2 separate regions of the Homo sapiens genome follow, and region 1 is linked to region 2. Evidence: promoter capture Hi-C in human tissues and cell types (Jung and others, 2019). All regions are on one chromosome and are shown on one strand. Each heading gives the region's core, a stretch centred on a gene start or on the middle of the fragment in contact. The rest is flanking DNA. Distances are from core to core; before and after follow the strand shown. Region 1 holds the start of OR7D4 (olfactory receptor family 7 subfamily D member 4). Region 2 holds the start of ZNF317 (zinc finger protein 317).

Region 1 (7,660 bases), core at 1,000-3,499, 79 kb after region 2:
GCAACTTTGAGGTTTGAAAAAAAATTTGCATTTTTCATGATGGAAAAAAGGTTGTTACTATTTATGCCTAGAGAATGTTGATTAATTAAAGATGGAAAAATAATCACTGAAGACCAACTTTAGTCCTGGAAAGTGGATAGAAGAGGCTTCTCTGAGATAGGAAAATTTGGGCTGAGAGAGGAAGAATGGATCATTGGTTTGTTTGTTTGTTTGTTTGGAGATGGAATCTCGATCTGTTGCCCAGGCTGGAGTATAGTGGTGCTATCTCTGTTCACTGCAACCTCTGCCTCCCAGGTTCAAGCGATTCTCCTGTCTCAGCCTCCTGAGTAGCTGGGATTACAGGTGTGTGCCACTACGCTCAGCTAATTTTTTTATTTTTAGTAGAGACAGGGTTTCACCTTGTTAGCCAGGCTGGTCTCGAACTACTGACCTCAAGTGATCTGCCCACCTCGGCCTCCCAAAATGCTGGGATTACAGACATGAGCTACTGCACCTGGCCGGATCATTGTTAATTAGGGGAAGTAAGGAAAGGAAAGGGTAAATCTTCTAGGCTGACAGAAGAGAATTCGAGATTGTCCCATGGGTCATTGAGCTTGTAAAGGAAGGGATTTGAGATGCCAGTGAGATGGGGAGCAGGGAATGAAAGCGGGATATGTATTTGATGACTAGAAATAGAACATCCTATATTCTTCCTCCTTGTCCCTTTCACATTGGTCAACTTATATTTAGTTTTAGACAGTGGTTGCGATTGTTTTGTCTCATCATTTAACAAGGATTTACGTGGTGCCCAGCACATTACTGATTCTGAGCAAGTACAAATTGAAATGTTCTATAAAGACTGGGACCAAAGCATCAACTATAACACAAAATAGAAATCTTCAAGTTTAAGACATGTTTGAATATAGACATAAATTTAATAATACAGTAAATAACATATTCATATCTCTTTTAAAATAATGATAAATGAAGTAGTAATACCAGCTCTAACAATGGAAGCAGGTTTAATGTAAGAATGTCTGCATAATTCATCACAAAAACAGGTCAGTAAAGAGAAATCATAAACAAAATCACAATAGAAAAAATGCATTTGAAAAAGATTATCAACCAGGGCAGATCCTCTCAATAAAGGAAGAAACCAAGGACAATTGCTTAACCCGATAAACAATGGTTGTTTTAATACCACAGGCAACAAGATATGCTATGTTAAAACAGTAAGGGGTTTAAATTCCTGGATACACCAAAGGCCGTCTACTACAATTTCAATCTTTTGATATTTTGGTGAACATGCAAATGGATTTTTTTTTGGGGGGGACATGGTGTCACTTTGTCACCTGGGCTGGAGTGCGGGGTGCAGTCTCAGCTTACTGCAACCTCTGCCTCCTGGGTTCAAGCAATTATCCCATCTCAGTCTCCCGAGTAACTGGGATTGCAGGTGTAAGCTAAGGTGTCAGGCTTTCTTTTTTTGTTATTGTTTAGTAGAGACAGGGTTTTGCCATGTTAGCCAGGCTGGTCTCAGGGTCCTGGCCTCAAGTGATCTGCCCGCCTCGGCCTCCCAAAGTGCTGGGATTATAGATGTGAGCCACTACGTTCAGCCAAGGGATTTTTAATATGAGAAAAAAAATTGGACTGCATGTTGAATGTCAGAAATAATTGTATTATTTCTATATGATATCATGGATACTAAGTTGAAATAGCAAAAACATAACAGCTAGTAAGTGCTGTAAATAAGTCACCATCTCCACCACATCAACCCTACCCCCAATCCCCAGACCACTCTGGGTCTGGTAACCAATAATCTGCCAGGAAAAATATAGAATATAATAGAAAAATCCAATCACATTAGGAACACATAGACAATACCTTGAGCATAGTAGATCTTCCGTGAGTAGTTAATGAATAAGTAACTGGATGTACGAAATTCAACAGGAGACTAAAGTTTATAGGAAAGAGTGCAGGAGAGTTAGAGACTGTTCGGAAAATAACTTATTAAAGACGGGCCCTGGATTCCAAGGAGTGAGAACAGAAGGTGGGAGACACTGGTTTCTGTGAAAACTAAAGTACCATCAAAGTACAGGGACTTCACCTTCATAGACTCAATAAGTATGGGACTTTCCAGGCTCATTACTGTGAAGGCTAGTACTTATTCTCTCTCCTCTTTTCCTTCTTACCCCACCAGCCCTCACTGGGTCACACTAACTCTGATGGTTATCACTGAAGTTTTCTCTTCTACACGATCTGTTCCTAGGAAGCCGTACTGGGTTTTTTCCAAAGGCTGGGAGCAGAGAATTACAGGTGAGGTTGTTTAAACAGGGGCACATTTTAAGTTTCCAGTGTCTCAAGAGTTGAATTCTCAGAGCACCTTATTAAATAAATTGTTCTATTTTCTTCCCACTCTCCAAAGAGTTTGGCTCCCTTTGAGTAGTAAGAAGATGATAGAATGGAAATTTTTCAGTTAATTTTGTGATGAAATAGGCAGTGGTAGGGCATGATGGATTTATTTCCCCCAAGAAGAAATTCTTTCTTCGGTTTAATTTGAAAGTCACAAGTTTTGCCCTAAGGAAAGATTAATTTCTGCAAGGAACTAAACTCAGGAATCATCTCCAAGCGATGTGACTCCCTTGAAGAGTCTTTGGAGATTTTATGGATCCCTCGGTGTTGAAAATTCATGGAAACAAAAATGTCTTTTCTTTTTAAATATTTTTTCAAATTATTTTTATATATTTTTTTAAATTATAGAATTATATGTATGTATCATGTACAACTTGATATTTGGAAATATATATACATTGTGGACATTCAATGTATCTAATTAACATACGCATTATCTCACAGAGTCGTTATCCTGGTGAGAACACTTAATATCCACTCTCTTAGCATTTTCAAAGAATATCATATATATCATCATTAACTAAAGTCATCCTGCTGTACAATAGATCTCTTGAACTTACTTCTCTTATATAGCTGTAATTTTGTATTCTTTTACTAACATCTCCACAACACCAACACTACTCCTCAACCCCAAACCACTCTGGGTCTGGTAACCAACATTCTACTTCTTTGAAATCTGGATTCTATTTCTCTGAGATCACCTTCGTTAGATTCCACATATGAGTGAGATCATGTGATATTTGTCTTTCTGTGCCTCCCTTATTTCACTTAACACAATGTTCTCTGAGTTCATCCATGTTGCAAATGACAGGATTTCCTTGTGTTTTATGGATGAATCATATTCCATTGTGTATATATACTACATTTTCTTTATCCATTCATTTATTTGCAGACAACTAGGTTGATTCTGTGTCTTGGCTACTGTGAATAATGCTCCAATAAACATGGGAGTGCGATATCCCTTCCACACACTGACTTCGTTTCTTATTGATATATACCCAGTAGTGGACTGCTGGATCATATGGTAGTTCTATTTTTAAGTTTTTGAGGAACCTCCATACTCTTTTCCATAATGGTTGTACTAATTTACATTCCTACCAACAGTGTAGAAGGGTTTCCATTTCTTCATATCCTGGCCAGCACTTACTATCTTTTGTCTTTTTAGTAATAGCCATTTGAGATGAAGTGAGGTGATATCTCATTGTGGTTTTCATTTGCATTTCCCTGATGATTAGTGAAGTTAAACCTTTTAAAAATGTATGTTGGGCCGGGCGCAGTGGCTCACGCCTGTAATCCCAGCACTTTGGGAGGCCTAGACGGGCGGATCACAGGGTCAGGCGATCGAGACCATCCTGGCTAAAGGTGAAACCCCGTCCCTACTAAAAATACAAAAAATTAGCCGGGCGTGGTGGCGGGCGCCTGTAGTCCCAGCTACTTGGGAGGCTGAGGCAGGAGAATGACTTCAACCCGGGAGGGGGAGCTTGCAGTGAGCCGAGATCGCGCCACTGCACTCCAGCCTGGGTGACAGAGCGAGACTCGTCTCAAGAAAAAAAAAATGTATGTTGTCCATCTGTGTGTCTTCTTTTGACAAATGTCTTTCAGGTCTTTTGCCCTTTTTTTTTTTTTTTTTTTTTTTTTTTTGAGACGGAGTCTCGCTCTGTCACCCAGGCTGGAATGCAGTGGCGCGATCTCCGCTCGCTGCAAGCTCCGCCTCCCGGGTTTACGCCATTCTCCTGCCTCAGCCTCCCGAGTAGCTGGGATTACAGGCGCCTGCCACGACGCCCGGCTACTTTTTTGTATTTTTAGTAGAGACGGGGTTATCACCGTGTTAGCCAGGGTGGTCTCGATCTCCTGACCCCGTGATCCGCTCTCCTCTGCCTCTCAAAGTGCTGGGATTACAGGCGTGAGCCACCGCGCCAGGCTGTCTTTTGCCCATTTTAAAATTGGGTCGTTTTCTTCCTACTGAGTTGTTTGAGCTTCTTACGTATTTTGGATATTAGCCCCATATCACATGTCTAGTTTGCAAATATTTTCCTCCATTCTGTAGTTTGTCTCTTCACTCTACTGTTTCCTTTGCTGTGTGGAGATTTTTAGTTTAATGTAATTCCATTTGTCTATTGCTTTTGTTGTCTGTGCTTCAGAGGTCATATCCAAAAAAATCACTGCTCAGACCACTATCATGAGGTTTTCCTCTTTTGTTATTTTCTAGCTTTTCTATTTTAGGTTTTACATTTAAGACTTTAATCCATTTTGAATGGATTTTCGTATATAGTGTGAAGTAAATACCTAATTTCATTCTTCTCTGCCTGGATATCCAGTTTTCCCAACACCATTTATTAAAGAGACTGTCCTTTCCCCCTTGTGAGTCTTTGGCACCTTTGTTGAAAATCAGTTGGCTATAAATACATGGATTTATTTCTGTGGTTGATATTTTGTTCAGTTGGTCTATGTATCTAGTTTTATGCCAGCACCATGCTGTTTTGGATATTACAGCTTTGTCAAATAGTTTTAAATCAGGTAGTGTGATGCCTCCAGCTTTGTTATTTTGGCTCACATTGCTTTAGCTATTTGGTGTCTTTAGTGATTCCACAAAAATTATTTCTGTGAAAAATGTTTTTACAATTTTGACAGGGTTTGCATTAAATCTGTAGATTGCTTTGGATAGTATGGACATTTTAATATAGCAATTCTTCCAGTTCATGAACATGGGATATCTTTCCATTTATTTGTATCTTCTTTAATTTCTTTCAACAATGTTTTATAGTTCTGGGTGTACAAATTTTTCACCTCCTCAGTTAAATTTATTCCTAAGCATTCTATTTTTGGGGGTACCAATTATAAATAGGATTATTTTGTTGATTTCTTTTTTGAGTAGTTTGCTGTTAGTATATAGAAACACTATTGATTTTTATATGTCGATTATGTATCCTCCAACTTTACTGAGTCTTTTTTGTTAGTTCTAACAGTTTTTGGCAGTCTTCAGAGTTTTCTATACATAAGGTCATGTCATCTGCAAACAGGGAAAACTTAACTTCTTACTTTCCAGTTTGGATGTCTTTTATTTTTTTTCTCTAACCTAATTGATTTAGCTAGAACTTCCACTACTATATTGAGTAGAAGTGGTGAGAACAGGCATTCCTTTCTTGTTCTGGACCCTAGATAAAATGTTTTCAATTGTTCCCCATTGAGTGTGATGTTAGCTGTGGGTTTCTTGTGTGTGGTTTTTACTATGTTGAGGTATATTCCTTCTATATCTAACTCATTGAGTCTTTATCATTAAAGGATGTTAATTTTTGTCAAATGTTTTTTTCTGCATCTATAGAAATGGTCATATGGCTTTTGTTCTTCATTCTGTGAGTTTGATGTTTCTTGTTGTTTAATTTGCATAATTTGCACCATCCTTGTGAGGATAAACTGCTGGTCTTTTCAAGATAGAAGGAGCCCCATGTGGTCAACCTGCTCCCCTGGCTGGCTGGTCTCCTCAAGAAAGAAGGCCCTCTGGGTGTTCTGCTATTGTCTCTTGCTGACCATTCGGACATTCCGAAGCAGCACCAGCTCAATGGATCTTTGCAAATGGGAGGATCAGCCCTTGTGGCCACTCTGTTTATCAGGCCATCATACCATCAGGTGGCCAATGATAAAGGCTGGAAAATGTTATGTGGCAAAATGAATGCCTATCTGCCTCCTATGTGACATACAACACAAATATTTTCATTTATCATATCCAGTCCTCTATGTCCATCTACATACCTGTCTACACTGTTTCATCATTTTCTTTCAAAGCCCATGACCAGGTGGTCCCACCACCTCAAATGACTTTTTCTTCCAGACAACGTGGATGACCAGATGTGCCGCTTGCAGTTCCACCCTTTGCAGAGATTTTTTCTATACACCCCTTTTTCAGGGTGTCCCTGAACTTGGCTATAATGAAGCCATGGCTCATTTTTTATTGTACTCACATACCAAGCCAATCTGTCTATAAAGCAAACTCAGGCATTTTTCTCTTCTTTTTTTTTTTTTTTTTTAATAGTACAGGACATCTCCTGCTCCCCAATGGACCCTAGGTACAAGCTAAAGGCGTGGTGTTGGTGCGATAATGGTGAATGCCATTGGGATCTGCTGGAGTCTTGGCTTTTTTTTTCAGACTGAATCTTGCTCTGTGGCATAGACTGGAGTGCAGTGGCACAATCTCGGCTCACTGCAACCTCTGCCTCCTGGGTTCAAGCAATTATCGTGCCTCCGCCTCCCGATTAGCTGGGATAACAGGTGTGTGCCACCACACCCAGCTAATTTTTTGTATTTTTAATAGAGACAGGGTTTCACCATGTTAGCCAGGATGGTCTCGATCTCCTGACCTCGTGATCCACCTGCCTCAGCCTCCCAAAGTGCTGGGATTACAGGTGTGAGCCACTGCACCCAGCCGGGGTCTCGGCTTTCTACACGTGCAGCTTTCTCATGCCTCTGGTCCTGTTTGGGTTCATTCTCAGATGTGCCATTTCCACCATGGATTGGGGCTGGGCCTGTCTAATGTTACGACTTAGTAGGGCCCATAGAATCAGGTTATAGTGGGAAATTTCATATATGTGGTCATTGGTACCCCGTCATCAAGCATCCCATATCTACAGGACTTGGTAACAAACCAGGAACTATTTCTCAAAGACATATAAATATTTCCAGTGGATGGCATAGCCTCATTCTAGAATCCTTAAAACCTGATCATGATTTTCCCACTAAGAGATTCCATATGGCCAGGCATGGTGGCTCACACCTGTAATCCCAGCACTTTGGGAGGCTGAGGCCAGTGGATCACTTGAGCCCAGGAGTTCAAGACCAGCATGGCCAACAAGGTGAAACCCTGTCTCTACTAAAAAATAAAAAATACAAAAAATTAACTGAGCATGGTGGTGCAAGCCTGTAATCCTAGCTACTTGGGAGGCTGAGGCAGGAGAATCACTTGAACTGGGGAGGTGGAGGTTGCAGTGAGCCAGAATCGTGCCACTGCACTTCAGCCTGGGCAATGGAGTGAGACTTGGTCAAAACAAAAAAAAAAAAGAGAGAGAGATTCCATAGATGCACTCTGAATTTTGTTCACCAATGACCTTCAACACCATAGATCTAGCAGATAATATGGCCCAAGCATAGGGGTGTATGATGTGAGAAGAGGAGATTATGTTGGTATGTGGGTGATCCATTTAAACACTTATCAGTAGACTTTCTCTCAATTTTCACAATCAATGGTCAAATGCAACAGACATGACCTGAAAAAGAAATG
Region 2 (3,287 bases), core at 467-2,966:
AACAGAACTACTATATGACCCAGCAATTCCTCTTTTGAATATATGCCTAAAAGAGATGAAATAATCACCTCATAACGATGTCTGCACTTTCATTTTCATTGTAGCATTATTTACAATATCCAAGTTACGGAAACAACCTGAATGTCCATTGATGCTCACATGAATACGAAATACAAAATAGCAGCTATGTAGTCTGAATAATATTCTATCTCTTTTGTATTTATATATGATGTCAACATTAATATCATATAATATTGATATATATTTCATATTATATTAAATATTAATATAATATGTTGTATATAAATATATACCTATTACATAATAGATATTCCCATTATGTTATATATCATGTAATATATTATATGTAATATATGTATATAATATACTATATGAAATACATATTATATATTATATGTATTATTATATGTATATATGCTATATATTATGGTGTATATATTATGTATTATGAAATATATATTACGTTATGTAATATAGATTATATATTATATATGAATATCTTATATCCATATATATTCCATACATACATTTTATATGTGTGTGTATATATATATATACGCACCATGGTCCATCCCCTCAATAATATATTTTCCAAAACCTCAAATTTCCTTCTCTCTGTCTTTTATAATACCTGCCCTGGATAATACTAACCATCTGTCTCTCCTGCCTATATAATTCTGCCCCTACTGGTTACATGGGAAGCCTTGGTTTCCTAAAGTGTTGAGATTACAGGTGTGAGCCACTGTACCCAGCCTGATTCTGGAATTTTGTATATGCAGACTCCTCCTGCTAAAATAATATATATTATATATAATATATATTCCATAATATATATAACATACATACATATATTATTTTAGCATATATTATATAATATACGGTAATAATACACATAATACATAATTATAATAAATATGATATAATATATATTCCATTGTATAAAACATATAATATATATAACGGAATATTATTCAACCTTGAAATAGAAGGAGGTCCTGACATTTATCACAAGATGGGTGGACCTGGAGGACATTACGCTAAGTGAAATAAGCCAGACACAAAAAGAAAAATATTGCATGACGTCACTTACATGAGGAACTTTTTTTAATCAAGAGAGACAGCTCAAATACACAGAAATAAAGAATGAGGCAGTTGGGGAAGAAAATGGGAAGATGTGGGTCAAAAAATACAAAATAGCAGATATGCAGGATGAACACCACACAGGTGATGGTGATTTTACGCCCTTCCCAAGGTGTCATTCAGAGGCACGTGGTCTCCATCTGACCCTCACTGGTGATATTGATTTGATCACCTGGTCCAGATGTTGTCCAATTTCTTCGCTGTACAATTTCTATTACTTTTTCTCCATTCCAACATACGAGCAGTTTATAGAGAGGCATTTAAGGCAATTCAAATATTCTGCTCGTCATGCAAATGTCCCCCAGTTGTGTCATGTAGATGACAATTCTTGCCTGATTCAACCTTTACCACTACGATGGCTACAAAATGCTGTGGGTTGTGGTTGAAAATTTGAGTCTTGAGTAGAAATTGGAGAAATATGCTGGACCGTCAGATTCCACCGGGGCACGGCCGCCATGCCAATCCAAACTTCAAAACTACAATTCCCAGCATCCTCTCCGCCCCGCTTCCGTATTAGACGCCGCCAATGAAGTCCCGCGAGAATTGGAAGGCGGCAGTGAAGCGGAAGCCATTACTCTCTGGAGTCGATTGCCCCGAGACACATGGGCCAAGGAGGGGTCAGCGGCGAATTCTTTCGGCCTGTTGGGGACCCCTCGTGTCCCCACGCCAGACTGGACCTCCCGTATGAACTTCTCTTCGCATCGGCGGCGGCTTCCGTCACCTCCGCTCCCCCGATCCTATTCCCAGTCGTGTAAGCCCTGCTTTCCTTAACCCTTCTCCCCCTCAGTTCCAGGGGTCACGGGAGGCCTATCTGGCGGTGAGGACTAAGAGGGTACGAGGGTCGGGGGCTAAAGAGCTAGGCATCCAGACGAGGGGTGCGTTTAGATCTCGCGATCAGCGATATGAAAAGCTGGGGACGCGAAGGATAAAATTGGACCATTGCAGCTAGTGATGAGAGAAGCATTGGTCACCTGATCCTGAAAAGCCCTAAGTCTCTGGTGGGGGCGGAAAAGCCCGGCTGAAGTGAATTCAAGAGTTTGGGGGCAGTTCAGGAGATTGGGGGGCGTCAGGATTTGGACATCGCGAGGAGAAATCACCTTCTTTCTGCGCTGTAGTCAATTTTATCTCGTGAATGTCAGCACATTGGTGTTCTTATTAGCACTTACCTTGAGTACCTTTTATATTTTTAATTTAAGACCTTCTGGTTGCACTTTTTTATTTATTTTAATTTTAGTGGACTCTTGTAAATAGCCTATATGTATATTTACTATTCAGTTCAACATTTTGTTAATTAACTTGAGTTAGTCCAGTTATACTTATCGTGATTATTAATATTTTCCATTGAATTTTACCGTCTTATTTTGTGGTGTGTCCTTTCCTATGCACATATTTTAACACTGGAAAATAGGACATACATGCAAAAAAAGTATGATTACACACACACGCAGACTTACACACACTTAAAAGGACAACAGTAAAGCGAATTTACAAACCAGGCCAAGAAAGAGATTATTAAATCTCAGAAAGCTGTGTGCCTCTTCTAAACTGCATCCTCCTCTCCCACCAATACTGTCTCCGTGGATTTGACTGCGTATACATCTTTTCCAGAAAATATATTTCCTAAATTTTGGTAATTATTTGTGAATGAACTCAGGCGCTTCAGTATTTTTGGAAACAATCTTTTTCTGTATTGATTCAAGCACACCTTTGTAATTTAGAGATTTCTAAATATCTTGTAGATGAAGTACTTACACCTAGCCATTCTTTTTCAGGAATGTCATGGCTTAAATTCTAGTCAGTTCACCAAATTCCACATACTGGACTTTTGTTTTCAAGTTGTGGTGAATCTATATTTGAACTTTGGGAATATTGTCGTTTTTATGCCATTGAGTTGCAGTTAATTGATTTACATCATTTATTTACATCTTCTTTAATGCCTTTCAATAAAGTGTTTTTTGTTGTTGTTGTTGTTTTTTCCTTTTTGAGATGGAGTCTCACCCTTGTAGCCCAGACTGGAGTGCAATGACAATCTCGGCTCACTGCAACCTCTGTCTCCCTGGTTCAAGCGGTTCTCCTGCCTCAGCCTCCCGAGTAGCTGGGAATACAGGCACCCACCACCACACCCA

Evidence for each region. Contacts are between HindIII fragments. The study calls those that stand out against the background at their distance.
Region 1: the fragment with the promoter of OR7D4 here is called in contact with the fragment with the promoter of ZNF317 in region 2 in 1 of the 25 tissues and cell types used here (adrenal gland).

The regions. Positions count from the first base shown.
Region 1 is chr19:9,217,340-9,224,999 of GRCh38, forward strand. It overlaps OR7D4 (olfactory receptor family 7 subfamily D member 4), which reads right to left and starts at 2,250. Exons shown (of 2, transcript NM_001005191.3): 1 at 1,861-2,250. It also overlaps a transcript of OR7E24 not described here. The HindIII fragment of the contact is 21,358 bases long and covers 1-3,663 here.
Region 2 is chr19:9,138,681-9,141,967 of GRCh38, forward strand. It overlaps ZNF317 (zinc finger protein 317), which reads left to right and starts at 1,717. Exons shown (of 7, transcript NM_020933.5): 1 at 1,717-1,912. RefSeq lists enhancers at 1,380-1,479, 1,530-1,739. The HindIII fragment of the contact is 13,678 bases long and covers 1-3,287 here.